Regions from separate parts of the Homo sapiens genome. Here region 1 is linked to region 2. The links are contacts of gene promoters, found by promoter capture Hi-C in human tissues and cell types (Jung and others, 2019). All regions are on one chromosome and are shown on one strand. Each heading gives the region's core, a stretch centred on a gene start or on the middle of the fragment in contact. The rest is flanking DNA. Distances are from core to core; before and after follow the strand shown.

Region 1 (5,269 bases), core at 1,620-4,119, 100 kb before region 2:
CTGCCCAAGAGATCTCTTGGATAAATAATTTAAAGGGATAAGGGGATAGATTCTATTATTGTTTCCAAATGTCTGTGTTCTCCTTTGTGAAAGGATTAAACTTTGATACCCTTGACATGTCTTTCTGTAGACAAAGTATATTTCCCTGTCTCACTTGCAGGTTTGTTCAGGTAACTTGCATTGGCCAACAGAATCAGAGCAAATACAACGTACACCTTATCTGAATAAAGGATGCTACTACATGGTTCAGCTTACAAGGAGCTATTCTGTGATCTCAGCTTCCAGAATGAGAAAACACTTGGAGAGGGGCCAAGCAGAGTTGCAGTCAACTCCAAGGTGGCCCTAAGCACAAGTGTAATGTAAGTGAGAAATACATGTTTGTTGTTGTAAGCCACTTGGATTTTGGGGTTGTTGGTGATACGGTGTAATCCAGTTATAATGTGACTTATTCCAGGGAGAGAGCTATAGTTTTAGGAATATGGTTTGCTTTCTAATTATGAGCTTAGATTGTAAAGACTCTGAGAATCAATGATTGTTATTTCAGGGAATATGTGTGCATGTATACCTGTCTACGTGCATGTGCTGGTTAGGCCCAATCATTAATTTGTGGAGAACTTAAAATTCCCTTATCCTTCCCTTATGCTTTGTCATTCCCCTTTCCCTTTTCTTACTAAATAATTTGATTCTAAATAAAGCAGTAGCAAGATAGGTGTCTATGGTGAGGTGGCTGGGAGAGCAGCAGTGGCCTGGCACAGGGGGAGAGCTTTAGCAGGGTGAGAAGGGTGACTATGCAGGGTATTGGCTTGACAGTGGTTCTGGAGCCCAAGCAGAGTGAGAAGAACATCCCTTAGGGGTGGGAAAGTGTCCTGGCATGGGGAACCAGAGCGAGGAGATGTCCACTCCTGGCAATGGCCCAGTGCAGGGTGTCAGAGGATAAGATTGAGGAGGGTGTCCATAGTAGGGGTAGCCTGATGTGAGAGGTCAGAGTCTGAGAGGTAAAGAAGGCATCTATGTGGTGGGATAGTCAGGTGCAGTGAGTTGGAGTGCAAGCAGGGTGAGGAGGGCATCCATGTATGAGGTTACCTTCTATAGGGAGTCAGAGTCGCAAATGGCTGAGCAGAGTACTCTAGGGCCAGCCTGGTATGTATGTCAGCATGTGGGAGAGGTGAGGAGGGCACCCATGCCTAGTGTTGGCCCAGTTGGGGTTGGGACTCAGCACTTAAGCAGGATGAGGAGAGAGAGCATCCTTGCAGAGGGTAGACCTGGTGTGGTTTCAGAGACCAAGCATGATAAGGAGGGTGTCCATGTGGTGGGGTAGCCCAGTGAGGGAACTCAGATCCTAAGTAGGGTAAGATGGACATTATTGCTGGGGGATGGAGGACCTGCATGGAGTGTCAGAGCCCAAGCAGGATGAAGAAAGCTTCTATGCAGAGGGAGGACTTGGTGTGGGTTTCAGAAACTTAGCAGGATAAGGAGGTGGTCCATGTGGTAGGATAGCCCGGTGAGGAAATCAGACCCCTCCAGGGTGAGGAGGGCTTCCACCCATAGGGTGACCTTGTGTGGAGCATTAGAACCTAAGGGGGTCTAAGTGGTGACTAGGGGACCAGCATCAGGAATCAGAGTGCAAGCAGAGTGAGGAGGGCTTTCCTGCAGAGGAATGGCCTAGCACAGGGAGTCAGAGCCTTGGCAGGGTGAGGGGGATGTTTGTTGGGGGATGTTCATGGGGGTGGGGAGTGGGCTGGCCCTTTGCCGGCACTCTCAGAGTGAGGAGGGAGGGCATCCGCGCAGGGGATGGTGGCTTGGACTGGGGAGTCAGAGCCCAACTAGGAAGAGAGGGACATCTTAGCAGGTGGGAGATTGACGACATCCAGGAGATTGATCAAATAAGGAATAAGTGAAAGACAATGAAAGCAGGTTTCTTAGTGTCACAGAAAGGAGTTAGGAATGTGGGAAGGGAGAAAACTAGAATGAAACTTGTGGTGTTAGATTGGAATTAGAGGAATTAGTGTGAACTCATGGTGTTCAATATATTTAGATATAGAAATAATATAGAAATATAGACGTGTGTGTTTGTGTGTGTGTGCATGCATGTATGCATGTGTGTTATGCAGGAGAAGGAATCAGCTGGGGGAGATTAAAAGGAGGATCATTTGCGGAGAGTTGAGGGCAGAGAATCCAGGTGTGAGCTGGGAGCATGTCTATGGAGAGATTCCACATGAAGGATTTAATATTTGGAGTGTTTTCTTCTAGGCCTTTGGAAAAAGTCATATTTAGTACTTTGTTTAAGTTTATCCCCTTCTATACTGTGATTCTATATAATTCTCCTAACTGTTAAAAAATAGTCATATATATTGGAGGTGATGTGGCGATTAAAAGGTTAGGGAAGCATGGAATAAAGGCTGGCCTTCCCTCTCCTCCAACATCCAGTAAAGGGAGCTGCTTTCTGGAGATTCTAGCAAGATGAATGCAGACTTTTGATAGAGTTAGTTACCAACAAGGAAACACAGAGAGCATGGAGGAACAGCTTCAGAAGACATGGGGTTTAAACTTTGCCATCCCCACCATGCTACAGGAAACTAATTCGTGAAGGTGGGGAGGCTGATATGTGAGTTTTGTGTCAATGATACTCTTAGAATGTGGTACTAACAAGTTGCCTGATCAGTCAAAATTGATGAGATGAATGCAACATAAGTCTATGTTCAGGATGTTTGGTCAAAAGTAATTACATTTGTGTGTGGAAGCACAGAAATTGTATTTTTTACTGGTGAAAAACGCAGTTCTCCAGAAAGACTCTAAGTGCTTGGTTCTTCTTTTATTTTTCTTCCTCTTTCCGCAACCCTTTGAGTTCCCACTTTTATTGCATTTGCTTGCATTTGTTTCAAGGCTGTGATTCTCACTATACTGGTCCTGAGGAAAGGGCTTCTGTGAACTGCGGTTTTTAGTTTTTATTGTGGTTCTTAGTTCTCATGAGACCCCTCTTGAGGATATGTGCCTATCTGGTGCCTCTGCTCTCCACTAGTTGAGTGAAAGGAAGGAGGTAATTTACCACCATGTTTGGTTCCTGTTTATAAGATGTTTTAAGAAAGATCTGAAACAGATTTTCTGAAGAAAGCAGAAGCTCTCTTCCCATTATGACTTCGGAAATCACTTATGCTGAAGTGAGGTTCAAAAATGAATTCAAGTCCTCAGGCATCAACACAGCCTCTTCTGCAGGTAAAGATCATTTTCTAGGGGTCAGAGTGAATGACGAGGTGAAGGATGAGGAGAGGGTTTATGAATAAGGCATAGGTGTTTTCAGTTGCTGGTTGTCTGATTGAGTATGTCTGGGAAACACAAGAGTCCCAGAAGATTGAGTGGCCTGCAGATACGCATTACGGGGTGTACATTTGTATTGTGGAGAAGAAAAGATTTTGTGCCACTCTCTTCAGCCTCCACTCTGCTTACTGAAACAGAGGTGAGAGAAATCCACTCCAGTTCTGAGCTAAGGCGAGTGCTCTGATGCCCCTGTGTTTTCTGAGGCTGAGTGGGGCTGGGGTTAAGAGATTGAGTACAGCTTCTGAAACCATCAATCCAGATGCAGGGGGTCCTGATGAATTTGTGAGATTTGTTTTTTGATCAGTTAGAGGGAAAGAGTTTGGGTGGACAGTGGTGAGGGTATATTTGTTGGTAATGGATGGAAATGTAACAAAAGGCCTTTGCAAATGAAAGACTAGAAAGTCTACAAAGAAAGTCTCTTAAATCTCCAGGAAACTTTTTCTGAAATCAGAGAACCTATTGCGTGTTGCATCTCTGAGACAGACTCTGTTACGTTTGGGAGTAGATGCAAGGTGATTTGGGTGTCATGTGTGATATCTCAAGTATAGAGCAAAAGAGAGAAAAGAATGTATATAGAGTACAAGAAACTATGGGGGAAGGGGTCAGGACTATAGTTACGCTTTCTAAAATACCTCTGTGAAGGTGTGGAGAGCACTTAGGGAAATTTTTTCTCCTTAAAAACTTTATATAATTTCTTTATTACACAAGTATTAATGTTCATTGTAGAAAAAATTAACCAGAGGTACACAGATATTTGAATTATAATTACTCTTATCATCTAGAGAAAATCATAATTTGCAATTTAGTGAATATCCTTCCACATACAAATACATATAATGTGCATATGTATTTTACTAAAAATGTAATCATATTATATAATACTGAATTTTTTTCCCCCATCATTTGACAAAATATCATAACTCGAAGAAAGTGATTCCTAACCATGAGATGGTAACTAAAAAGACTGACTTTATTCTAAACATGTGATGAGGAATGATTATAAAGATTTATTTGCTATAGCATTATTTAAAGTTGGAAACCATTATTTAAATATATGATGAAATACTATGCAACCATAATAAGGAGTGTTAAAGAAGAAAATATAATGGTATGAAAAATGTTCATGATATAGTGTAAAGGAAAATAATAGGTCAGAAATCAGTATTTATGGTATGTCAATCGTGGGAAAATTTGCATATGTGTATATATACATTCAAAAAATTGCTAGAAAGATATATACCAAAATATTATGGTATATTATAAGTTATATGGCATAACAGTTATCCTCAATTGTAGGAATTCGTACTTTTATGTATTTTTTAAAGTTTCTACAGTGAATATTATTATATCCTTTCTATTCCTATTCTCATGTGATTTCAAATGTCATACCGTTAGTAACTGTGTGTCATCCAAGAAAAGAGAGAGAAAGAGGAGGAGGAAGAAGAGGAAGTAAAGACCAAACTTATTACTGATAAAACTAATTTGGCTTCTTCTTCAGCTTCCAAGGAGAGGACTGCCCCTCACAAAAGTAATACCGGATTCCCCAAGCTGCTTTGTGCCTCACTGTTGATATTTTTCCTGCTATTGGCAATCTCATTCTTTATTGCTTTTGTCAGTAAGTATGCCAACTGAACCAATAAGCAATATCTGCTGTCCATGAACAGAGGGTATCCTTTAAAAACTGACTTTTGAAAATGAGCTTATCCAGAAATCTGAAATGAAATTTTCTCTGGGGAGACATAATTCATGGGAATCCACTGTGAATTTTGCTCTTTATTTGGATTTAGTTACTGTCCTGTAAAAATAATGGAATCCCTTCTCATTTAGAGAAACTGAAGCATAAATGTGGGTGTATGTATTTGTGTTGTAGAGTGAAATCTATGGGGCATCATCTCTATACTAGACACTATGTAAGTGAGGACAAATCTATGTTTCCTTGGTAGCATTTATCAGG
Region 2 (5,765 bases), core at 1,088-3,587:
CAGGTCTGTTTGAAATCTGGGATAAGGGATGCCTCCTGTCACAACTTGAATCGCTACTCTTGCCGTTTCATTAGGCAACTTCCAAACACAAATTCATAGAGAGAAGTTATCTTCCTCTCTACCACACTAGCAGGTGATGGTCTTTCCTGTTCTATCTTTTTGGCTTTAGCTCCAGCCCCTCTTTATTTATTTTTCTGGTATTTTACGCATGCCACACGAATTCATCTAAACGAACGGTGAACAAGTGCCATATCGTATCAATGTCTTACACGGCTGAAGGGCAAACCACCCTTTTTTCCAAAGTCCTTTTTCCATTTACCCACCAATTCAGCATGCTGCAGTACATTTCTTTTCGCATTCCCACCTTGGTCTTATCCCACACATGGAGACGGAAATGCTTTCTCGTTTTCTGTTCCAAGAATTACTAGTAACGAGAGCACACCCTACCGCATCAGCAAGCCCCAGTGTGATCGCTTTCTTTCGGCCTCCTTTGTCTCTTTTCCCCCCCACCCCTCAGGGATTGCGTGAAACAAACAACTGTTCAGTGAAACTAACCTGAAATTACACGTCTACTTTCTTTCCCCGGCTGGCGCTGAGATGGGCAGGTGCTGGAGCAGCCCCGCTGGAAGCGATGCAGCATCCAGGAAGACGGAGGAAGGGGCAGAGAGGGACCTCTGCTTTCCAGGCTGCCTTTTATACTGCCTCTGGTCACCTGACGTGGAACGTACCCTAACCTAATCAGTTACATGTAGGTTAATTACAATTAACTTAATCCAATTACATGACTCGGAAAGGTCTATCTGCACAGCCCACTCTAAGATCATGTCCACTGCTGACAGACATTCTAAAACCTACGTGTACAGCTGCAAGCTTTGAAGAATAGATGTTCCCCGTCAGATATGTAACACTGGTGCCTGTACCCCTGTCTTCTTTTCCATCTTTTTTGTTTTTGTGTTTTGTTTTGTTTTAAAAAATGTGGTAAAATAGACACCTTTTAATTGGACCATATTTACTCTATCTCGACGTAGGCCTCCGTGTCATCATGGAGATTCTCCTTGACATGCAGTCACGGCCATGATCCATCTTCAGAGCTTCTCTTTCTTCCCCACGGTAGGTCTGTCAGCAGAGAACCCTGACCACACACTCATGTGTTTTCTCCTCCAGAATGCGCTTGGAAACCACCGTGAATTGGAGCGCACTGGGAAACACAGATGAAGAAAGTCAACACCGCTTTGTCCTTCAGTGCCTGGCTCCCTTTTCAGCTGGTCTTGAGACTCCAGGCATTGGAGTCCAGGGAGGGGCACGCCGCCTTTACCTTGTGCTTCCCACGATCTTGTCTCCTTAATCCCCACTGCAGCTCTCTGCCATAGGGTCTTATACTGCTTTACATGTGGGAAACTGAAGCTCAGAGGGTTTCACAGCAGGGCAGGGAGCCCAGATGTGAATCTGTACATACCAAGCTTTCTAATTTTTCAGTAGTTTCCAAGCATCTTTTTTTTTTTCTTGTTTCTTCATTGATGTCTTTTTTTTTTTTTTTTTTTTTTTTTGAGACACAGTCTCTGTCGCCCAGGCTGGGGTGCAGTGGTGTGATCTCAGCTCACTGCAACCTCCGCGTCTCACAGTCAAGCAATTCTCATGCCTCAGCCTCCCGAGTAGCTGGGACTACAGGTGCCCACTACACCCAGCTTATTTTGGTATTTTTAGTAGAAACAGGGTTTCACCATGTTGGCCAGGCTGGTCTTGAACTCCTGACCTCAGGTGATCCACCTGCCTTGGCCTCCCAATATGCTGGAATTATTGATATGAGCCATTGTGCCCGGTCATGTCATTGTTGCCTTAACCAAGCCTCTTTTAATTTTTCAAACGGAAGAGCCCCTGTCCCTCAGTTACTGCTGCTGAGCCCTTTCAAGATGACTCAGTGAGGAGGGGGAAAAGCAGAAGCGGTGTGGGAAGAGGCGGGGTCTGGGCCAGCTGCTGGTCCTGCTCTCCTCCCTCCTTTGGCCTCTAGGCTCCCAGGAGTGGTTTGGAACCTGCGCCGTGTGCTCTGGGGGCTGTGGCAGGGCAGGGGCGGCTTGGAACCTGCGCCATGTGATCTGGGGGCTGTGTCAGGGCAGCGGGAGTCCTCGTGTCCCCTGCGCACAACACAGACAGAAGGCTGGGTCCACCCAGTGGGCGGTCGGGTGCCAGGCCAGTGCTTACCCCGCCATGTTTTCAAGCCCGAGGCCAGCTGGCTGCAGGTGCAGGGCTATGCGTCAGGGGTCAGGGTGCACACATCCCTGCAGGTCTCGGGGCTCCTGGGTTGCTTCTGGAAGGGCCCGGATGGGGCCTGACTGGAGCTGCCGAGGGGTGGAGCTTCTGGGAAAAGGATCCCTCCTAGGGGGAGTGTCTTGGGCCTGGGGCCACGTGGCACGGAGAGAGACGGGTCCATGGCAGTGTCTGCTTTTCTCTGTGAAGGCAAAGGGCCTCTGAGGGAGTATTACAGCCGCCTCATCCACCAGAAGCATTTCCAGCACATCCAGGTCTGCACCCCCTGGCTGGAGGGCCGAGGACTACCCCCGCTTCTAGGTGAGAGGCCAGCAGGAGGCTCAGGGAGGACGCGGGGCCTTAAGCAGGGGGAACAGGGGTGGGCAGGATGTACTTTTTTCAGAAAAGGTGGCTCTGGAGGCCACTTGGGGACAGGACCTGGGCTCTAGCTGAACTCCCGGGAGGAGGCTACTTCCTGGTGTGCCAGCCCCTCCCTGCCAGGTGGCCCCAGAGGCCCTTTACCAAGGGGTTTGAGGAGGCCACGTCCTTTCAGTCTGCCACGCCCTCCATTCAGTCCTCTTCCTTCCTGCAGGAGGGCTGGGCCTGGGGTTGGGGCCACTGTTGCCCAGGTGTGGGAGGGCAGTGGCTTTGGGAGGTACAGGGACGATGTGTCAAACAGCGTCGCCTCTCCCAGTGCGATGGTTCTCCTTTGCCTCCGTCTCTTTCCGCGTTGATTTCTCCAAGTGGGGAGTCGTGGCTTGGTCCTGATGCGTCTCTAGAGCCGCATCTTCCAGCTTCGAGTGAGCAGAGCAGTTGGAGTCTGAGGGCCTTTTCCTGGCAGGATTCTCCAGCTAGTCTTTGTTTTAGACAGTCTTGCTCCGTTGCCTAGGCTGGAGTGCACGATCTCAGTTCATGCAACCTCCGCCTCCTGGGTTCAAGCGATTCACCCACCTCAGCCTCCCAAGTAGATTACAGGATTACAGGAGCCCGCCACAACACCTGGCTTATTTTTGTATTTTTAGCAGAGACAGGGTTTCACCATGTTGGCCAGGCTGGTCTTGAACTCCTGACCTCAAGTGATCCTCTCGCCTTGGCCTCCCTAAGTGCTGAGATTCCAGGCCTGACCCATCATGCCTAGCCCCAGCTAGTCTTTAGAAATGTTAAGCTATTTGGCTTTATTTTCACACTGACAGCTGGTTTGTGGTGGGTGTGATGTGGTTTATTATTATTATTATTATTATTATTATTATTTTGAGACGGAGTTTCGCTCTTGTTATTATTATTATTATTATTATTATTATTATTATTATTATTATTTTGAGACGGAGTTTCGCTCTTGTAGCCCAGGCTGGAGTGCAATGGCGCGATCTTGGCTCACTGCAACCTCTGCCTTCCCGGGTTCAAGCGATTCTCCTGCCTCAGCCTCCTGAGTAGCTGGGATTACAGGCACCTGCCACGAATTAGCTTCGCTAATTTTGTATTTTTTTTTAGTAGAGATGGGGTTTCACCATGTTGGCCGGGCTGGTCTTGAACTCCTGACCTCAGGTGATCCACCCGCCTTGGCCTCCCAAAATGCTGGGATTACAGGCGGGAGGTGAACCTGGGAGGTGAAGGTTGCAGGGAGCTGAGATTGTGCCACTGCACTCCAGCCTGGGTGACAGAGTGACACTCTGTCTCAAAACAAAACAAAACAACAACAACAAAAAACAAATTGTGGCTATGTAGAAAAAGTGTCAACTTACATTTTCAGATGTCCCACCCAGGCCGTGTGGCTGCTTGGCCACCTTAAGCCACTTGTGCTTGGGGTTGTCGGGGACCTTATCCAATTTTCACTCCCCTCGGGGGAAGTTGTCTCACTGTGCTGGGAGGATTTGTGTTCCCAGGGCAGAGACCAGCGCTCTGACCCACCCCTCTTGCCTAGCAGGGTTAGTGGACCTGGGTGTCTCTCTGGACACATCCTCCAGTGGCCTGGACCTGCCCATGAAGGTGGTGGACATGTTCAGGTGCTGTTTGCCTGCGTGTGCCGTGAACTTCAAGTGGTAGGAGCAGAACCCCAATCTTTCTGGGGATAGCTTCACAGATCCACCACTGAGGGGGAAGCAGTGCAGAGTGAGCTGCCCACAGTGAGGCCCTGCCCCTCGGTCAGTCCAGCACACACTGGAGGCCACGAGGAGGAGCCCTGCGGTTGCTGTGGCTGGGCTGAGCCTCACTGAAGTAGTTGCTTCCATTTAGAGCTCATGTTATATTTAGGTTGGTACAAAAGTAATCACGGTTTTTGCCATTAAAAATGGCAATTACTTTTGCACCAACCCAATATGAAAAAAAAAAGTACCTTAAATACAAGAACTCCACTCGGGGCTTTTGCTCCTAGAGTAGAATTGGCGGGAATTGCCTGCAGGCTTACATGGTTTTCTTTGTTTTTCTCTCCCACCATGTCCCTTTTGGCCAAGCTCACGTGCTGGGTTTGAACGAGTTAAATGAGTGTCATGCTGTGGCCTCACTGCACCCAGCATAGACGGGTGTTTGGAAGGGCGGCGTTAGAGGAGATTCTAGAAGCAGTAGCCCCAGCACAAGTTGAGCCCTTGGCCCCTGCTCAGGAGCCAGCTCCTGGATGGGATTCAGGGATGCGAGCCCCTCATGTGAGCTGAGCTCAGGGAATGTCGGGATCAAATCTGGTGTCCTAGAAAAGTCATCTTTTATGTGCTGAACCAGTCCCCAGGGGGTTGCCTTTACTTGTTCCATGGCCATGGAATTAAGAAAAACATGCAAAAATAATTCTTCAGTCCTTGAAGAGCATCCAGCACAGAAGGTACAAACCTTCCTTAAGGCTCTCTCCTCAAATCGATTTGGTCATTTTGATGTGCACCCCCCCCAGGCCTTTATACCCTTCAGATGCCAAATCTAAGAACCAGCTCCCAGAAACCACACCCCCTGTTCCAACCCCCAGCCTGGCTTGAGCGTGGGGTGGGTGGGAGCCCAGCTGGGCACCCCAGGGGTCTGGTGTCTTCCCCAGGCAGCTCTCAGGCTCCCTTGGTTCTCTCTGCAGTTTACATGAGCTGGTGAAACATAAAGAAAATGGCCTGGTCTTTGAGGACTCAGAGGAACTGGCAGCTCAGCTGCAGGTAGCCATGTCTGCCACCACGCCAGGGTGGACAGGGTTCTGGAGACTGACATCGAGCCACGCTCCCTGATCCCTGCTTCACACAGCCAGGGTGGGACCATGCAGGGTCTGGTGGAAAAGCTAGGGAGGGAGCAGAAGTCACAGAGGCTTCCTACTCTGCTGTCCTGTTTCGGTACAGTAGGCTCGGGAAAATTAGGACACACCCCCACCTGCCCTCTGGATTTATGGAGCTGAGACTCCACAAATGATGCTGGAGCCGGGTGGGCCGGGCTGCAGTTTAGGAAGTGATCAGGATCAGGTAGGTGCGTGGGCAGAGGGAACTTCTGGGATCAGCCTTGAAAGATGGGTGGAATTCTGCAAAGGTTACTTGTTTCTTATTGCAAAAAGTAATACACCATTC

What was found. Contacts are between HindIII fragments. The study calls those that stand out against the background at their distance.
Region 1: a contact is called between the fragment with the promoter of CLEC4A here and the fragment with the promoter of FAM90A1 in region 2, in 1 of the 25 tissues and cell types used here (mesendoderm cells).

What each region holds. Positions count from the first base shown.
Region 1 is chr12:8,120,748-8,126,016 of GRCh38, forward strand. It overlaps CLEC4A (C-type lectin domain family 4 member A), which reads left to right and starts at 2,870. Exons shown (of 6, transcript NM_016184.4): 1 at 2,870-3,213; 2 at 4,814-4,930. The coding sequence starts at 3,132. RefSeq lists an enhancer at 2,740-2,789. The HindIII fragment of the contact is 11,068 bases long and covers 652-5,269 here.
Region 2 is chr12:8,225,281-8,231,045 of GRCh38, forward strand. FAM90A1 (family with sequence similarity 90 member A1) reads right to left here and starts at 2,338. Exons shown (of 7, transcript NM_018088.3): 1 at 2,200-2,338; 2 at 992-1,198; 3 at 556-712. It also overlaps the pseudogene ALG1L10P. RefSeq lists an enhancer at 1,900-1,949. The HindIII fragment of the contact is 5,625 bases long and covers 1,166-5,765 here.